2 separate regions of the Homo sapiens genome follow, and region 1 is linked to region 2. The links are contacts of gene promoters, found by promoter capture Hi-C in human tissues and cell types (Jung and others, 2019). All regions are on one chromosome and are shown on one strand. Each heading gives the region's core, a stretch centred on a gene start or on the middle of the fragment in contact. The rest is flanking DNA. Distances are from core to core; before and after follow the strand shown.

Region 1 (3,503 bases), core at 100-2,599, 440 kb before region 2:
TGCCCATGCCTATGTCCTGAATGGTACTACCTAGGTTTTCTTCTAGTGTTTTTATGGTTTTAGGTCTAACATTTAAGTCTTTAATCCATCGTGAATTAATTTTTGTATAAGGTGTAAGGAAGGCATTCAGTTTCTTCTGCAAAGAACTTAAACAAATTTATAAGAAAAAATCAAACAACCCCATCAAAAAGTGGGCAAAGGATATGAACAGACACTTTTCAAAAGAAGACATTTATGCAGCCAACAGACACATGAAAAAATGCTCATCATCACTGGTCATCAGAGAAATGCAAATCAAAACCACAATGAGATACCATCTCACACCAGTTAGAATGGCGATCATTAAAAAGTCAGGAAACAACAGGTGCTGGAGAGGATGTGGAGAAATAGGAATGCTTTTACACTGTTGGTAGGAGTGTACACTAGTTCAACTGTTGTGGAAGACAGTGTGGCAATTCCTCAAGGATCTAGAACTAGCAATACCATTTGACCCAGTGATCCCATTACTGGGTATATACCCAAAGGATTATAAATCATGCCACCATAAAGACACATGCACACGTATGTTTACTGCGGCACTATTCACAATAGCAAAGACTTGGAACCAACCCAAATGTCCATCAATGATAGACTGGATTAAGAAAATGTGGCACATATACACCATGGAATACTATGCAGCCATAAAAAAGAATGAGTTCATGTCCTTTGAAGTGACATGGATGAAGCTGGAAACCATCATTCTGAGCAAACTATCGCAAGGACAGAAAACCAAACACTGCATGTTCTCACTCATAGGTGGGAATTGAACAATGAGAACACTTGGACACAGGGCAGGGGAACATCACACATGGGGGCCTGTCTTAGTGTGGAGGGTTGGGGGAGGGAAAGCATTACGAGAAATACCTAATGTAAATGACGAGTTAATGGGTACAGCAAACCAACAAGGCACATGTATACATATGTAACAAACCTGCACATTGTGCACATGTACCCTAGAACTTAAAGTATAATTTTAAAAAAAAGTGAGAAAATCTGGACACGGCATCATGCACACGGGGAGACGACCACGTGAATGGGAAGGCAGAGACTGGTGTGTCCCATCTGCAAACCCAGCAATGCTAAGATTTCTGGTAAGCCCCCAGAAGCTGGGGTAGAGGTAGAGAATCTGGGACAGATTCCCCCTCAAGCCTCAGAAGGAACCAACCTTGCCTACCCCTTGACCTTGGACTTCCAGCCTCCAGAATTTGAGACAATACGTGTCTGGGATTTAAGGCACCAGTCTGTGGTTGGTTATGGCAGGCATGGGAACTCATAAACGTGTGAATCACCTGCCACTAATTGTGGCAGCAAAAAAACAGCAGCATCATCATCTCTGAGAGCGGAACTCAGCAGGTCGAGCATTCCCAGCTCCCAGGGAGCTCCCCTCCCTCCATACGTGATGGGAGCCACCCACGTGTTCACACCAGCTCCCGGCAAGCCCACGACGTCAGAAGACACTTTGGATGAATCCTACTTCAATTCTTCACCTACCCATCATTGACTCACTGTCCAATCAGGCAAACCCCAGGTCCAAGAGCAGGCCTGACACAGTACAGGTGACTGACACTGGCTGAATGATGTGGGAGCCACAAAGACAATAAATAAGAAGCAAACCAGCCTGAGGTCACCATTTGTAGTGGGGAAAAACACCTACTCAACTGTCACACAATATGGAAAAGGTAAAAATCCATGCTAACACGAGCTCCCTTGGGGACCCAGAGGAAGGAGTAAGTGACGCTGCTTGGTAAGGAGCACACATCATAGGCTGCTGCCCAGGAATACAGAGGGATATGCGAGTCTGGGGTAGGACTTCCAGGTTGAGGGCCCATCATAAGGAGAGGGAGGGAGGCAAAGGTAGAACAGCGATGAGTCTAGCAGGTGGATGGCCCAAGACAGTTTCTGCCTTAAGTGACCCTTCCTGGTCCCACTGTTACCAGTGTGAGCCTTGGTCATGTCAAGTTCTCCTTGAGGAGAACAGTATCTGATTCTGGTCTCCCCACAGCCCTGCGAGGTGGCTATTCCTTTATAATTTGTTAGAGATGTTCTGAGTGAGTGAGTGATTTGTTAGATGACTCACAGATAGTACAGAAAGGATGGCAAAGACAACAGTGTATAGGAAGTCCCAACCCTGGCCAACTCCTCTAAAGGATTACTGGAGGAAACAACTCTCTTCTCCTTGAGCTTCTATCTTCTGTGCACAGGGTCCTATACCAGCACCAGGACAGGAGTGGGTGAGAGGACACGAAGATGACCAAGATGTGCTCTTGCCCCTTAAAGAGTTCAGTGTCTACAGGGAGGGGATGATGATGATGGTGGTGATGCTGATGATGAGGGTGGTTGTAATGGTGATGATGGTGGTGGTAGTGGTGGCAGTGATGGTGGTGATAATGGTGATGATGGAGATGTTGGTAATGGCGATGATAGTGATCATGATGGTGATGATGGTGATGGTGATTGATGGTGATAATGGTGATGATGGTATTATGATAGCGATGATGGTGATGGTGATGATGGTGATGGTGATGATGGTGGTGATGATGATGGTGACAATGATGGTATGATGATAGTGATAATGGTGATGATGTTGGTGAAGGGGATGGTAGTGATGATGATGGTGATGGTGACAATCATGATGATAGTGATGGTGATCATAATGAGGATGATGATGGTGATGATGACAGTGGTCACTGCAATGATGACAGTAGTGGTGATGATGAAGATGATGGTGATGACAGTGATAATGATAACCATGACACAGTGATGATTACCATGTATTGAATCCTAATAAGCCAGAAATTACGCTAACCTTATCACCTTCACCACAACCCTAAGTGGATATTATTATTACTTTTTGTATAATATTATTATTACTGTTTATATAATAATATTATTCTCATTCTCTAGATAAAGAAGCTGAGCCTCAGAGACTCCAAGTAACTACCCCAAGGTCACACTTCTAGAAAGCAGTAGAGGTTTGGTTTAAACCCAAGTCAAATCTCCCCATCTCCCGAGTTCTTGCTGTTCAAGTGATAGATGATGTTCCTCTCTATACACACCCACTGCCAATCTTAGTGCAGGCAAATCATAAATTAGAGGCATATCCCATTCTATTTCACTTGCTTTATTGAGCTTCACAGAGAAGGTGTTTTTGCAAATTGGAGGTTTGCGGCAACTCCGCAACGAGAAAATCTATCGGCATTATTTCTCCAACAGCACACGCTCACTTCATATCTCTGTGTCACATATGAGTAATTCTTGTACTGTCAAATTTTTCATAATTATTATATCTGTTAGGATGATCTGTGGTCAGTGATCTTTGATGTTACTATTGTCATTGTTCTGGGGTGGCATGAACCACACCCATATAAGATAGGAAACTTAATAAAAGTTCTGTGTGTTCTGACTGTTCCACTGACCAGCTATTCTCCCACCTCTCTCCCTCTCCTTGGGCCTCCCTATGCCCC
Region 2 (3,838 bases), core at 302-2,801:
AGTGAGCTAGAAAGAGGAGGGTGGCTGGAAGCGGGTGCATGGGACACACCCCACTGGGGTGCCCTGTGAAGAACAAGGGCACAGATATCACCACAGGGGTGAGGGGTGGGGAAGGATCTTTTACTTGTGTAAATGATCCCCACAGGGGCACTGCTTAACTGAGCAGTGGGAAGGAGGACACCATCCTCCAGCCCCCAGAATGGTAGAGCAACTGACAGCTTGCATCTTGAGCATGGAGAAGCTGCAGGCACCCAACTCCAACCCATGAGAGCAGCTGCAGGGGGTGAACCCTGCAAAGTCACGAGGGTGGAGTTCCCCAAGGCCTTAGGAGTCCACCCCTCACTCCAGTGTACCCTGGATGTGGGACTGGGAGTCCAAGGACATTATTTTGGAGCTTTAAGATTTAATGGCTGCCCTGCTGGATTTCAGACATGCATGGGGTCCGTAGCCCCTTCCTTTGGGCTGACTTCTCCCTTTTGGAATGGGAATGTTTACCCAATGCTTCTACCCTCATTGCATCTTGTAAGTAAATAATGTATTTTGATTTTCACAGGTTCATAGGTAGAAGGAACTTGGACTTGGGACTTCAGACTTGATGTTGGAATGAGTCAAGACATTGAGAGGACTGTTGAGAAGAGATGATCCTATTTTGTGATGTAAGGACATGAGATTTGAGGGGTCAGGGGGATAATGACATAGTTGGGCTGTCCCCTCCAAATCTCTTGTCGAAATGTAATCCCCAGTGTTGAAGGAGGGGCCTGCAAGGAGGTGTTTAGGTCATGGGGGCGGATCCCTCATAACTGGCTTAGCGCCATCTCCTTGGCGATGAGTGTGTTCACTCAGATCTGGTTGTTCGCAAGTGTGTGGCCCCTCCTCACCCCTTGCTCCCATTCTCACCATGTGGCGTGCCTACTCCTGCTTCGCCTTCCACCATGAGGAAAACCTCCCTGAGGGCCTCCCCAGAAGCTGAGCAGAGGTGGGTGCCATGCTTGTGCAGCCTGCAGAACCATGAGCCATTCTAACCTCTTTCCTTTATAAATTACCCAGCCTCAAGTATTTCTTTAGAGCAATGCAAAGAATGGTCTAACACACCCAGAAAGCTGAGACTGGTATGAGTAAAATATAAAGACCATGGATAACTTTTGAAATCTGAAAATGTAAAATTAATATTACTGGGGGAGTTAACACAGGAAAGATGAGAGCATGTGGGCAGAGGCTGTTGCCCATTGGTCACATGTGGTCAGCAGAGAGCAGGTGACCAGCACCCTGGAGCTTTGCAAGAAGTACCAGACAGCCTGGAGTTGAGGTTTTAATTATAGGGGCCAAAACAAACGGGGAAAAAGACAAATTTAGCATACAAAGAAAGTAGATGCTCAACTGAGCCAGGAGGAAGTCACTAGCAAAAAGGAAAAAAACAGAGCTCTGGAAAAATAATGTAAACAGTCACAAGAAAGGGACCCTGTGTCCTGCCTGACATCTGGACAGGTATATAAAGAGCCCGGGCTCAGGGAGCTCCACACCTGCACCTCCCTCTCACCTGCTCCTCTACCTGATCCACCCTCAATCTACCAGAATCATGGGCTGCTGTGGCTGCTCCGGAGGCTGTGGCTCCGGCTGTGGGGGTTGTGGCTCCGGCTGTGGGGGCTGTGGCTCCGGCTGTGGGGGCTATGGCTCTGGCTGTGGGGGCTGTGGCTCCAGCTGCTGTGTGCCCGTCTGCTGCTGCAAGCCCGTGTGCTGCTGTGTGCCAGCCTGTTCCTGCTCCAGCTGTGGCTCCTGTGGGGGCTCCAAGGGGGACTGTGGCTCTTGTGGGGGCTCCAAAGGGGGCTGTGGTTCCTGTGGGGGCTCCAAGGGGGGCTGTGGCTCCTGTGGGGGCTCCAAGGGGGGCTGTGGTTCTTGTGGGGGCTCCAAGGGGGGCTGTGGCTCCTGTGGGGGCTCCAAAGGTGGCTGTGGTTCCTGTGGGGGCTCCAAGGGGGGCTGTGGTTCTTGTGGCTGCTCCCAGTGCAATTGCTGTAAGCCCTGCTGCTGCTCCTCAGGCTGTGGATCCTGCTGCCAGTCCAGCTGCTGCAATCCCTGCTGCTGCCAGTCCAGCTGCTGTGTCCCCGTGTGCTGCCAGTCTAGCTGCTGCAAGCCCTGCTGCTGTCAGTCCAGCTGCTGTGTCCCCGTGTGCTGCCAGTGTAAGATCTGAGGCTCTGAACCCAGACCTTCAGGTTTCACCTGTTTGGTGAAAGCATTTGTTATGATTTCCCTGAATTAATTCATCCCACGCATCCTCCCTGAGGCACCTGCCCCTTCTCCAGCTCATCATCCATGCACGCACCTCCTTCCATGGCTCAGCTCTCCACTGGGCCCTGCCTTCAGCCTCCTCACTCCGGAAATGCATGTTTCCTTGATGCAGGAGGTGGCCTTGCCTGGACGCGGGCACCCAGCCAACTGCCATGGTGTTCCCTGCACTTGGGTGTGGACCATCTTCTTCTTCTCCCTCGGCTGACTGAGATGCAAGGTCTGACCCCACAAGGCCAGGCCAATGTTGCTCAGTGATCACTAAGAACCAGCTTCTCAACCACCATTGGGACCCTGGATCCTCCAGGGCCGCTCGCTGCCTGTTCTCCAGTGGCCACCTGTGACCAGGAAGGTCTCCTTCCTTCCTGTTGTCTCCATCTATTTAAAAACAATAACAAAGTAATGAATGAATTTCCTTACAATAAAGCCTCTCATGTCTGTAAATCAGCTGCATGCTTGGTGCAATTCTGTCCAACCCCTTTCCTGTGCAGTGACTGATTCTGCGTTCTGATCTGTCAGCTAAGCTGGGAAACGCCTGCCAGCAGGCCTGGTACATTCACAAAAAAACCTGCCATTCCCTTCTGTCCTCCTCTCAGCCTCAAATATCTTCAGTCTCTGCTCGCAGGAGAAGAGGGCAAAGCCCGGGAGGATTCAGCATTCAATGCCCGCCCTAGAGGCGCAGAGGGGCAGGCAGGCCCTGAGTCCTGACGACCAGCCAAGCAGGGCTTTGCACAAGACCCATGGCTTCCAGCTTCCCGCTCTCCTCTGGGGCCTCGGAAGGACCCCAGGCAGGGCAAGGTCGGAGGAGGGAGGAGTGAAGCACCGCTGAGCTCCAACGCACTCTGATTCAAACATTCAATTAGCCTTTTACAATTATGAGGTCAACGGCTTTCCATAACTAAAGGTAACCAGGAAGTTACAGAATGGCCCAAGGTGTCCTCGGAGCTCAGTCTCCCGGCAGGAAAGGAGAGTTCCTGGGAAGTGACACATTTGGGGACCCTGAGCCAAGTCCATCTGTTTCATGGTGACATGCCACCACGCTGAGCCTGTTCTCTGACCAGTGTCACAGGCAAGGCTTTAGAAATCACGCACTGGGGAGGAGGAGACAAGAGTGATCTGAGGACAATCTCCAGCCAAGCGAACCCGGAGGGAAAAGGTGGAGGGAAGACAGCACACAGGGAGTGCTGGTGAGAAATGAGCTCCCACAGAACACTCACAGATCTAAGCGACTGCTGATACTGCCGGGGAAGAGCAGAGTGGGAATTTCCAAGACAAATTTCTGAGAGAAAAGAGATGCAATGTAAGGAAAAATGAAATAATCTAGAAATAAAGGCTTAGATTAATTCAGCCACATTTAGGAAAGGGAATAAAAGTGTGTCAAAGGTGCATCTTGCTAGGGGACATGGCTATCGTTAGTTTCACGACGTTAAAAGGAAATGCTGCTTAAGACAGTTCACTCAAAAATCCAAACTGGGAAACTCCAGAAGGTGACAGCAGACATGAACGCAGAGTTCATTACATATGGGCCCTGTACATTCCCACAACCCACAGGACACCG

What was found. Contacts are between HindIII fragments. The study calls those that stand out against the background at their distance.
Region 1: a contact is called between a fragment that was not itself captured here and the fragment with the promoter of KRTAP5-10 in region 2, in 2 of the 25 tissues and cell types used here (IMR-90 fibroblasts and mesendoderm cells).

The regions. Positions count from the first base shown.
Region 1 is chr11:71,121,636-71,125,138 of GRCh38, forward strand. The region is part of intron 3 of SHANK2 (SH3 and multiple ankyrin repeat domains 2); the gene reads right to left. Among named protein-coding and RNA genes, the nearest start is that of SHANK2, 130 kb to the right of the region's middle. The HindIII fragment of the contact is 5,106 bases long and covers 1-3,503 here.
Region 2 is chr11:71,564,012-71,567,849 of GRCh38, forward strand. It overlaps KRTAP5-10 (keratin associated protein 5-10), which reads left to right and starts at 1,552. Exons shown (of 1, transcript NM_001012710.2): 1 at 1,552-2,724. The coding sequence starts at 1,577. The coding sequence ends at 2,185. RefSeq lists an enhancer at 1,939-2,754. The HindIII fragment of the contact is 12,390 bases long and covers 1-3,838 here.